Regions from separate parts of the Homo sapiens genome. Here all the other regions are linked to region 1. The links are contacts of gene promoters, found by promoter capture Hi-C in blood cells and fetal thymus (Javierre and others, 2016). All regions are on one chromosome and are shown on one strand. The core of a region is centred on a gene start or on the middle of the fragment in contact, and the rest is flanking DNA. Distances in the headings are between cores, read along the strand shown. Region 1 holds the start of THYN1 (thymocyte nuclear protein 1). Region 2 overlaps PPP2R1B (protein phosphatase 2 scaffold subunit Abeta). Region 3 overlaps USP28 (ubiquitin specific peptidase 28).

Evidence for each region. Contacts are between HindIII fragments. The CHiCAGO score rates a contact against its expected background, and 5 or more counts as called.
Region 2: a fragment that was not itself captured here is called in contact with the fragment with the promoter of THYN1 in region 1 in 1 of 17 cell types (neutrophils); the score reaches 6.1 in neutrophils.
Region 3: a contact is called between a fragment that was not itself captured here and the fragment with the promoter of THYN1 in region 1, in 1 of 17 cell types (neutrophils). The highest score is 5.6, in neutrophils.

The regions. Positions count from the first base shown.
Region 1 is chr11:134,251,414-134,254,883 of GRCh38, forward strand. It overlaps THYN1 (thymocyte nuclear protein 1), which reads right to left and starts at 1,939. Exons shown (of 7, transcript NM_014174.3): 1 at 1,427-1,939. The coding sequence starts at 1,469. ACAD8 (acyl-CoA dehydrogenase family member 8) reads left to right here and starts at 2,155. Exons shown (of 11, transcript NM_014384.3): 1 at 2,155-2,296. The coding sequence starts at 2,188. RefSeq lists an enhancer at 1,700-2,069. The HindIII fragment of the contact is 5,608 bases long and covers 248-3,470 here.
Region 2 is chr11:111,757,843-111,761,312 of GRCh38, forward strand. PPP2R1B (protein phosphatase 2 scaffold subunit Abeta) reads right to left here. Exons shown (of 15, transcript NM_002716.5): 4 at 2,977-3,209; 5 at 1,962-2,109. Among named protein-coding and RNA genes, the nearest start is that of PPP2R1B, 6.8 kb to the right of the region's middle. The HindIII fragment of the contact is 626 bases long and covers 1,595-2,220 here.
Region 3 is chr11:113,869,228-113,872,697 of GRCh38, forward strand. All of the region lies in intron 1 of USP28 (ubiquitin specific peptidase 28), which reads right to left. Among named protein-coding and RNA genes, the nearest start is that of USP28, 4.6 kb to the right of the region's middle. The HindIII fragment of the contact is 5,153 bases long and covers 1-3,470 here.

The DNA.
Region 1 (3,470 bases), core at 689-3,188:
CATTACCAGCTGTAGGAACTTAATCTTACTGTTAAGAAGCTTTCCTTATCTATAAAAATTAGACAAGAATACCTACCTTACAGGGTATCTTCTGGATTATCTATTCAATAGGGTAAGAACACCTTACAGGGTTGTTCAGGATTAAAGGTCCGGACAGTAGTCAATACATGTTTTCCTTTCCTCACTCTCTCTTCTATGCCTTTGCATAGGAAAGAGGAAACTGAGCACCTACTTGCAACTATTTTGAAGCTTAAATGAGGTAATACAAAGGGCCTAGACAATGCCTGGCATTACAATAAGTGCATAATAAAAGCATTATTATTCTCATCTCATACGTCTTTCCTTCTTGCTCACTGTGGCTCCTGGCCCATCTCCTTTCTGCTCCTTGAAGGTGCCAATAAAAGTTGAAAGAAACAGTTCATTCAGGACATTGTAGAAAAATGGTGATGATTCGATTTCATCCCAAGACAATCAGAATGTGCCTGGAACACAGTAGGCATTCAGTAGCTAAGTTGTTAAATTACTATATGACAGGGCCCAAGGTCTATGTGTTACCCTAACCCTAACTCGGTTAATCTACATAACCTGTGAGATGTTCTACTCTTCATCTGGGAAGCATGCTCCAGATCACACATCCAGTAATGGTGGAATCAAGATATGAGGTCAGCACCTGTCACTGAGGTCTATCTGAAGCTACTTAATGACTATACTGCCTCTGAATTTAGTCAAAGTCCCTACATCAATTGTCATTAAATACCATTTATGGCTGTCTAATGCTCTGAACCCAGCATACCTTCCTAACCTAGTTTCCTAATGGCCCCTTAGGAGTTAACAGGCCCACTGCAAACACCACATATTGATAAATAACTGCAATGTGCTGTAGTATATCTGGAACCCCTGTCATTCCCAAAAGAGGTACTTTCTGTACCTTCCAATGTTCCTCCTCCTCCATCCACTTAGAATGCCATCCATCTTTGTGATTATAAAAACGACATCACGTTTTCTTAGTACTAAACTTTGCCCGTGGAAAGTCTCCCATTCTTCAAGGCTGGGCTCAAATTCCACATCCTTCTCGAGGCCTTCCCCGTGATTCCTCCCTCCATAAACTTAACAATCCATTTTCCTGAACCCCATCACATCTGTTTGCAGTTCACCCGCAAGCAGGCGCTTTATATTCTTTAGCACGCCACCTGGTATCTCAAAGAGTCTTTGTGCACAACAACCATTGCCTGAATAAACAAGAAAAAGGAACTGTAGGTAGGAGCTTGGTGAGACAAGTAAAGAAGATGGAGAGTGATTAAGGATAATGGAGTAAAAATATCACAAAGGGTTCTCAAAAAGCAGGGAGTGAAAAATGAGTACTAAACAGGCTCTTCGAGAAAAGTTTTTTCTTGGGCTGCCTTTGTGCAGCCTAGGGGCAGCTCACCTGAACCAGAAGTCCCAGCCAGCCTCTTCCGGGGTCTCGACATGGTCACGCTGCAGGGGACTTTAGTGCGGACGATTCTGGAATCAACGGAGATACAAGAAAGAATGCTAATGTCCTCCAAAACCCGCGCAGAGCGAGATGGAGGCAACGAGAGGCAGCCTAGAACGTCTCCAACTTTTGCGAAACACAGACGCCTACGTTTGAGCCCTCAAATCCTTCCCTCCGTTATCTGCGCCATTTCCATCTCGCATAACCTGCCCCTAAACTCTTCTCGGTTCTGTCCTTGGTCCTTCTCATCCAGGAACCCCTATCTCAGTATGTAGTTCACTGGGAAGTGGCTCCACAGAGACACTTTTGTTGGGTGAATATAAGTAAGCCTTGTGTTACCTTGTTATCCTTGCTAATTAGGATCAACTGAATGGATAATCTAGATGATGAAGTAATTTGCTGGCTACAGACCCAACACTCTGCAGACTCGACTGCGGTCCGCCTCCGCTGCGCCGCAGGCTGTGCAGCGCGACCCCCGCGGCGCTTGGTGGGCGGTGCATCTCTGCGGCGCCGAGGCCCCGAGGACTTCTGGGAATTGTAGTCCTGTCCCCTTGGGAGCCCGCCTGGCACCTGGGTTGTTAGGGCTCGTGGGAGGACTACAACCCCCAGGGTGCAGTGGGACAGGCGTTGCCGGGTCGCAGGTCCCGCCAGTGCGAGCGCAACGGAGGTCGAAGGCGTTCAGACTCTTAGCTGAACGCGGAGCTGCGGCGGCTATGCTGTGGAGCGGCTGCCGGCGTTTCGGGGCGCGCCTCGGCTGCCTGCCCGGCGGTCTCCGGGTCCTCGTCCAGACCGGCCACCGGAGCTTGACCTCCTGCATCGACCGTAAGGATCTCCTGGCGGGCAGTAGGACAGGTGTCCAGAACCCCGGCGGACATATGTCCGCGAGGGGCTGCAGTCTCCCCGTTCCATCCAGTCACCCCGGCGTCAGCTCCCCTTCCGGCCAGTCACCCCCCCGGCCTGGCTCCCTACTCCGGCCGGTCACCCCCGGCCTGGCTGCCCCCTCCGGTCGGTCACCACCATCCGGGTCCCCATCTGGCCCGTCACCCCTGCCCGGGTCCTCCTCCGGCCGGTCACCCCCGCCCCGGTCCTCCTCCGGCCGGTCACCCCCGCCCCGGTCCTCCTCCGGCCGGTCACCCCCCGCAGGTTCCCCTCCGGCCGGTCATCCCCCCGCAGGTTCCCCTCCGGCCCGGGTCCTCCTGCGGCCGGTCACCCTCGGATGCTTAGAGAAGTGAAGAAACTTGGGGCTTGGTTGTTGTTGGGTTGGTTGGTTTTTAATCATAACAGTAGGTCATAAAAGCAGTGAGAATATAAGAAGCTGGCTGGGTGCTGATGGTGACAACTGCACAAGAACTCCAGGTCATACAAGATTTGCTCACACACAAAGATTTGGTATCTTAACACCTCTGGCTATAAGACACTTTTAGTGTTGAAACTCATGCAGGAAAAATAATTATTATTGCCAGTGGGAAACTCTACCAGAGCTGACAAACTTGAGTGTCTTTAGGCTCTGAACAGTAATTTGAATGTAGCGAGGAGTGGTGGAGACCCGGCCAGTTTGTGACTTCTCTGCCAAGAATGTTTATAAACACTTTTTTCTTCTGAAATATTTTTAAATTTATTTTAAATAAATGGCAGTTTTCTTTACAACAGAATAAGTCCCTTAGATATCAGATCTATAAAGTACAGTAAGGCATAGAATACTGTTTTCTTCTGAATGTCCTAAAACTCATTCAAGAGGTGCTGCCCTGGCCTAGCGCTTAGAATTTGATAACCCAGATTACCCTGGTTGATACCGAAGCAGATAAGGAATTATTTAGAGGTGGGTTTTGTTATTGTTTGCATCTTGCTTACACTTGAGTGGCTCTGCAGTCAAAGGCTTTTCCCATTTCATTTGGAGTGTTTTTCTATTTAGCTTTACCTTTTTAGTGTATATGTATTGGCATCTTGAGCTCTGCTAGTAACTATGTATTGGCATCTTGAACTCTGCTAGTAACTG
Region 2 (3,470 bases), core at 658-3,157, about 22 Mb before region 1:
AAAAAAAAAAAATTACTTCTCTTCCAGAACTTCGTTTTCTCTCCTACACCTGTTCCTCTTCCCAGAATTTTCTCTATCTTAACGATGACACCATCATCCACCCAGTTGCTCAAGCAAAAAATCTAGGAGATCTTGATTCCTCTCCCACTGATCCAATCCAATAATACTAACCTATTGATCCCACTTCCAAACTGACATCCAAATCCTTTCCATCTTCACTACCACCCTATTAACAACATCATCTCATGCTGAGACTTGAAATGTGGCTGGTACACGTTATTTACACTCAAATAATAAGATTTTGGAAAATTTTGGTCGAATACAAATATTGTTAATTTCACCTATTTCTTTTTTCTTATAAAAACATGGCCAGTAGAAAACTTAAAATCAACAGGTAGCTTACATTATATTTCTGTTGTAAAGCACTGTTTTAAACTATAACATTTAGGTAATAAAAGTGCAAAGAAGGCCGGGCACGGTGGCTCACGCCTGTAATCCCAGCACTTTGGGAGGCCAAGGTGGGCGGATCACAAGGTCAAGAGATGGAGACCATCCTGGTCAACATGGTGAAACCCCGTCTCTACTAAAAATACAAAAGTTAGCTTGGCGTGGTGGCATGCGCCTGTAGTCCTAGCTTCTTGGGAGGCTGAGGCAGGAGAATTGCTTGAACCCGGGAGGCAGAGGTTGCAGAAAGCCGAGATTGCACCACTGCACTCCAGCCTGGTGACAGAGTGAGACTCCTTTTAAAAAAAGAAAAGAAAAGAAAAGAAAAAGTGCAAAGAAAACAAAGGCTGCGCTTACCATAAAAGTCAGGATAATGTTACTCTTAAGGAAATGGAGTGGCAAGTGGAGGAGGAAAGAGAGATTGTGTTTGAAAGGGAATCCATGGAGGGATTCTGGGATAGTGGCTGTCAAAGTGATGTCTCCTATCATAGGTGATCGTTAACAAGTTGGTATTACCTTCTAATAGTTCATTAAGTTATACATTCATTTTGTACATTTATTATTAGAATAAAAATTCTAATAATTTTTAAAATTATTTTCAAAGTAGGATTTAGATCTTTAGATTTAGGATCTGAAAATGAGACTCATTAATATGTGTCCTGGGGCTTGTGGTCCTGTACACATGAAGCGATCTTAGGGCAGGCAACATGCAAATTAAAAGCCCAAAAGGACTATTCTAGAGTCCAGGAACTCTGGGAGCTGATCCTATTAAGCACCATTACAGAGAAGCGGGACAGCCTAGCTGTGAAGGGCACAAATTCTGGAGCCAAACCACCTAGATTCAAATTCTGACTCCACTACTGCTAACTATGCAAACTTCAGCAAGTTACTTAAACTTTCTGTGCCTTTGTTTTCTAATGTGTAAAATGGGCTATCTCATGGGGCTGTTGTAAGGACTGAATTACTTAATACACATAACTACTTAAAGGCAGAGAAAAATTAAGTACTTCATTTGGATGTTTGCTAGTTTTATTGTTATTTCTACACCAAAGAGATCTAGATCTTCAGAATTGAATACGATTATGTGAAGTAATCCCATACACTACTATAGAAGAAGCAGAGAGTCAAATAGCTTTCCTAACACATTCTAAGCTTATTTATCTGAAAAGTCAAAAATTCCAGGAAACATTACTCCCTCATATTACAATACAGCCAGCAATTCCCAAAGGTATGTTACCCTCCATGCAGCTTTGGTCTTCCTTTCTAATTATGGCTCCCATTTCCTCTCTGACTCCCCACTCTTTTAACAGCTGCTAATGTAAGAGAGAAATCATGGTCTGGTTAAGAAAGAAACATAAGAACATTGAGATAAGCATGTTACACTTTAACCAGGCCAGAATCAGCACTAATTCTGTAAAAAGAATCCTAACAAGAAAACTAAAACTCCCCAAAGAAATTCTGAAAATTTAGAGGAAAGGAGCATATCTGTGTCCCTTAAATACTAAGAGTTAGTTTACCTGTTCATCTGAAGCTAGACTAGTGAACAGTGGAACAATTTCACTTTTCACACTGTCTAATTCCAAAACTTTTGCAAATTCACCCAATTTGGAAGCAGCAGCACGTCGTACCATTGGTGTGTCATCTGAGCACAAGGAACGGAATTGCCTGCAACATAAAACAATGAAGGTATTTCCCATCAAATAACACTGAATAAACCTGCCCCCCATACACACAGACAGACTTTTAGAGGTTTTATCTTACAATAATCAGTGACTAAGCTTCTACTTATAGAAGTAACAAAAATAAAACATATTCAACTGGATAATAAAAAATGACATCATAGGCCAGGCATGGTGCCTCACACCTGTAATCAAAGCACTTTGGGAGGCCCAGGTAGGAGGACTGCTTGAGGCCAGGAATTGAAAGCAGACTGGGCAACATAGCAAGACCCTATCTATATGCCAAAAATATTTTTGTTGTTGTTTGTCGGGGGCTCAAGTGAACTCCCACCTCAGCCTTCTGAGTAGCTAGAAATACAGGCGGGTCCCACCATGCCCAGCTAATTTTTTTCTTTTTAGTAGAGACAAGGTCTCACTATGTTGCTCAAGCTGGTCTTGAACTCCTGAGTTCAAGCAATCCTCCCACCTCAGCCTCTCAAAGTGCTGGGATTACAAGCATGAGCCACTGCATCCAGCCAGAAATTTTTTTTAAAAATTAGCCAGGCGCAGTAGTGTATGTCGGTAGTCCTAGCTACTTGGAGGCTGAGGCTGGAGGATCACTTAAGCACAAGAGTTCAAGGTTGCAGTGAGCTATGATTGTGCCACCGCACTCCAGCCTAGACAACAGAGCAAGACCTTATCTCTTAAAAAAAAAAAAGAAAGATGTCATAAATCCTACTATCCTAGTATCAGCCACTCATTGGTAACAAGGTACTATGTAAATTGTCAGCTACAAGTCCCCAGTAATCCCAAATAACTCATAGCTTACTACCTGATTTCTGCTTTAACAAGGCAAAAAAATACCATGGCTTACTGTCTGATTTCTGCTTTAACAGCATTTGATGCCCTGGGATAGCAAACGCTGAACAAACCACATGCAGATGTGCGAGAGGTGAACCAATCCCCACTTGCTAAGCGTTTCACCAGAGGTACAAAATAAGCTTCCAGAGCAACAGGAGTATGCTCCTGGGAGATCTGTCTCAGGGACTCCACAGCCTTGTCACGAACAACAGTCTCTTCCACAGTTGCCAGATTTTCCAAAGGAGGCTGAATGGATTAAAAAGGAAAACCAGAGAAGAAAACTTATTGAATCAGGTTAGAAACAGATAATCACCTTTTAAAGTGACTGAAGGGAGGTGGTACACGTAACCAGAATGTTAGCTGCATCATACCAAATGGTTACTTTCAGCTCACACAGTGATAACATATGGTGCGGCCAACCCAAAGACACGACTTCTGTAGAAAAGCCAAGATCTCGTGTCCCAGATGGCAATTCCCAGATGGTGTCTACAAATGACACAGTGTAAA
Region 3 (3,470 bases), core at 255-2,754, about 20 Mb before region 1:
TTCAAGACCAGCCTGGCCAACATGGTGAAACCCCGTCTCTACTAAAAATACAAAAATTAGGCGTGGTGGCATGTGCCTGTAATCCCAGCTACTTGGGAGGCAGAGGCAGAAGAATCAATAGAACCCGGAAGGCGGGGGTTACAGTGAGCTGATCTCACGCCACTGTACTCCATCCTGGGCAACAGACTGCGGTCCGTCTCAAAAAATAAAATAAAACAAAAGTAGCCAGGTGTGGTGGTGCATACCTGTGGTCCCAGCTACTCAAGTGTCTGAGGATTGCTTGGGTCTGGGTGGTCAAGGCTGCAGTGAGCCTTGACGGTGTCACCACACTCCAGCTTGGGTGACAGAGTGAAACCCTATCTCAAAAAACAAACAAGACATCTCAGTTTCCTCATCAGTAATAGGGTAATAGTTCACACCTTGCTGGGTTTTTGTAAATAAAAATGTATGGAAAAGTGCTTAGGGTGGTACATAGCATATGGCAGACACGAGTAATACAAGTGTACATTCCCATGCCTAGTATAACAACCCTGGGAAAATAAGTATGAAGCAAACGTTTATAGCCAAGGAGGTTGATATTCAAGCAGACCTGTTCAAAAAGCACTGGGAAACAGAGTATAGAAGTCATTTGCAACTCAGGATTAGAAATGTAGATTTGGAGCCAGGTGTTCACGCCTGTAATCCCAGCACTTTGGGAGGCTGAGGTGGGCAGATCACCTGGGGTCAGGAGTTCAAGACCAACCTGACAAACATGGAGAAACCCTGTCTCTACTAAAAATACAAAATTAGCTGGGCATGGTGGTGCATGCCTGTAATCCCAGCCACTCGGGAGGCTGAGGCAGGAGAATCACTTGAACCCAGGAGGCGGAGGATGCAGTGAGCCAAGATCGTGCCAATGCACTCCACCCTGGGCAACAAGAGCGAAACTCCGTCTCAAAAAACAAAACAAGAAAAAAGTAACAGCAAAAAAGTGGTAATGAGGGATCATAAAAGCATAAAATAATAAAAGTATGAGGGGGCCAGGTGTGGTGGCTCATGCCTGTAATCCCAACACTTTGGGAGGCCAAGGCAGGAGGACTGCTTGAGCCCAGGAGTTCAAGACCAGCCTGGGCAACATAGCAAGACCTCGTCTCTATAAAAAATTAAAAAAACAGCCAAGTGCGGTGATGCACGCCTGTGGTCCCAGCTACTCAGGAGGCTGAGGTGGGAGGATCGCTTGAGCCTAGGAGGTCAAGGCCAAAGTGAGCTATAATCACATCGCTGCACCCCAGTCTGGGTGACAGAGGGAGAGATCCTGCCTTGGCAAAGTAGGCTGCTGAGCAGATTCTGATTACATAAAACCACTCACTGCCTTTCAACCTAACCTGCTGCTGCCTAGTCAGTCCCTCTGCAGGCCTCTGAACAATCAGCCATTTGCTGGAGCCCAGACTGGTCCACACGGCCATCTCATTATTTGGCTTTTGCAGAAGCTGTTATTGCCACCTTAAGCTCTGTAGCAGAATCTGGGAACCAACCTTCCTCAATCTCCTGTCAGCTAAGAGTTAGTCTTGCTCAAGTCTGTCTTTTCCAAGTTTTGTATATTGAGTCTGAATACATTGTCACTGGAAAAATGTTTTAGAAATGAAACAGGTGGGGTTAGAAACTTTGTTCCAAAAGCAAACAAGAGGAGGAAGGTGGAGACAACAGCTGGACTGGGCAATAGACACTTTTGTTGTTGTTATTTGGTTTCAAGATAGAGGACAAGTGCACGGTAAAATGGAAAATGCAAATTCAAAATGTAATATGCAAATGAATCACCCAAGAATCTTGTCAAAAGGCAGAAACTGATTGAATAGGTCTAGAGTGGGGGTACAGGCAGTGGTATGCTGATTGGCAGTGTATGCTTGTTTCCTTGGTATAAATATTCCCACCTTGGCACAGTTATCAACACGAGGTCATTGAACACAGAGCTGGAAAGAGATGTACAAAATCAGCTGGAGAGGCAGAGCAAGCTGGCTCTAGCACACTCAACTTTCTGCATGTCTAAATCCTAGGGGATGTGAATGCTGCTGGTCTGTGGACCATAATGTGAGTAGCAAGGGAGAAGACAGTGAAGGTGTCTGGGGGTTAGACTAGGACTAAGGAGAAGGGACATAATAGAAAGAGAAGAGAGACATCATCTAGATCAGAGTTTGTCAAGCTCAGCACTATTTTATACAATTTACACATAACTCTGTTTAGAGGGGCTTACTCCTGTACACTGCAGGATGTTTAGCAGCATTCCCGGCTTCTACGCACTACATTCCAGTAGCATCCTCCCTCCAGAGTCACAATCAAAGTCTCCAGACATTGCCAAATGCTTCCTAGATTACAAAATCTCTCCCTAGTAAAAACCATTAATCTAGGTTTATCTCTAAGAAATGAAAGGGGGAAAAAGGAAGGGAACCTTTTCCACTGAAATAAGAGAAAAGAGATGAGATGGCGTAGGGAGAGGGGGACAAAACAGAAGGCAGGGAGCTCTTTTTAGACATCAGCGAGCTCAGTCAAGTAGAAAAGAAGATTATCTATTTAGAAAGACTGTAGGGAGGACTGGAAGTTTAAAACATTAGGAGAGTTCTAGAAAAGGCATTATAAGAGTAGTGGAAAGTCTGTGATCCAGGGCAATGGGCCCATCAACTATGAGATAGGACCAGGGGCGCCTTGGGCTCTTGGGGTCAGAACTGCCTAGATACAATTCCAACTGTACCATATCCTCACTGGGTGACCTTGGACGAATTACTTAACAAGTATAAGCCTTCTCATAGAAACTTCATGGAGTTGTGTAAGTACTGAGAGAATGCTATGTTAAGTTCTGAGCACCGAGTCTGGCACATAGTGCATGCTCAATTAGCATTAGCTATTACTATTACCAGCATTATTTTCCTTGTTAAGTACTTGCTTCATTTTACTATTGATTTAATTTCTTTGATGAAACAGAACACATGGAGAGATCTCGCCTGGTAAGATGCTATTTGCCAGTAAGTCTTAAAAATACTGTTTGCAGACCGAGGCGGGCGGATCATGAGGTCAGGAGATCGAGACCATCCTGGCGAACACTGTGAAACCCCGTCTCTACTAAAAATACAGAAACATCAGCCGGGCGTGGTGGTGGGCACCTGTAGTCCCAGCTACTCAGGAGGCTGAGGCTGGAGAATGGCATGAACCCGGGGGGCGGAGCTTGCAGTGAGCAGAGATCGCGCCACTGCACTTCAGCCTGGGCAACAGAGCGAGACTCCGTCTCAAAAAAAAAAAAAAATACTGTTTGCATTTGGGGGCAGAGGGGCATGAGAGTTGTGGAACCAATCACTGACTTACTGATGTTTTAAAAATCAGTTAATGAGACAAAAGGAAACGAAAGGTCAATAAATCAAGAGAAAGCAAAAAGGGCATTAAATTTTCACTGAAACTGGCAGGTTTTTATAAGGCTTCAGCTGACATAAAGAATGTGTGAT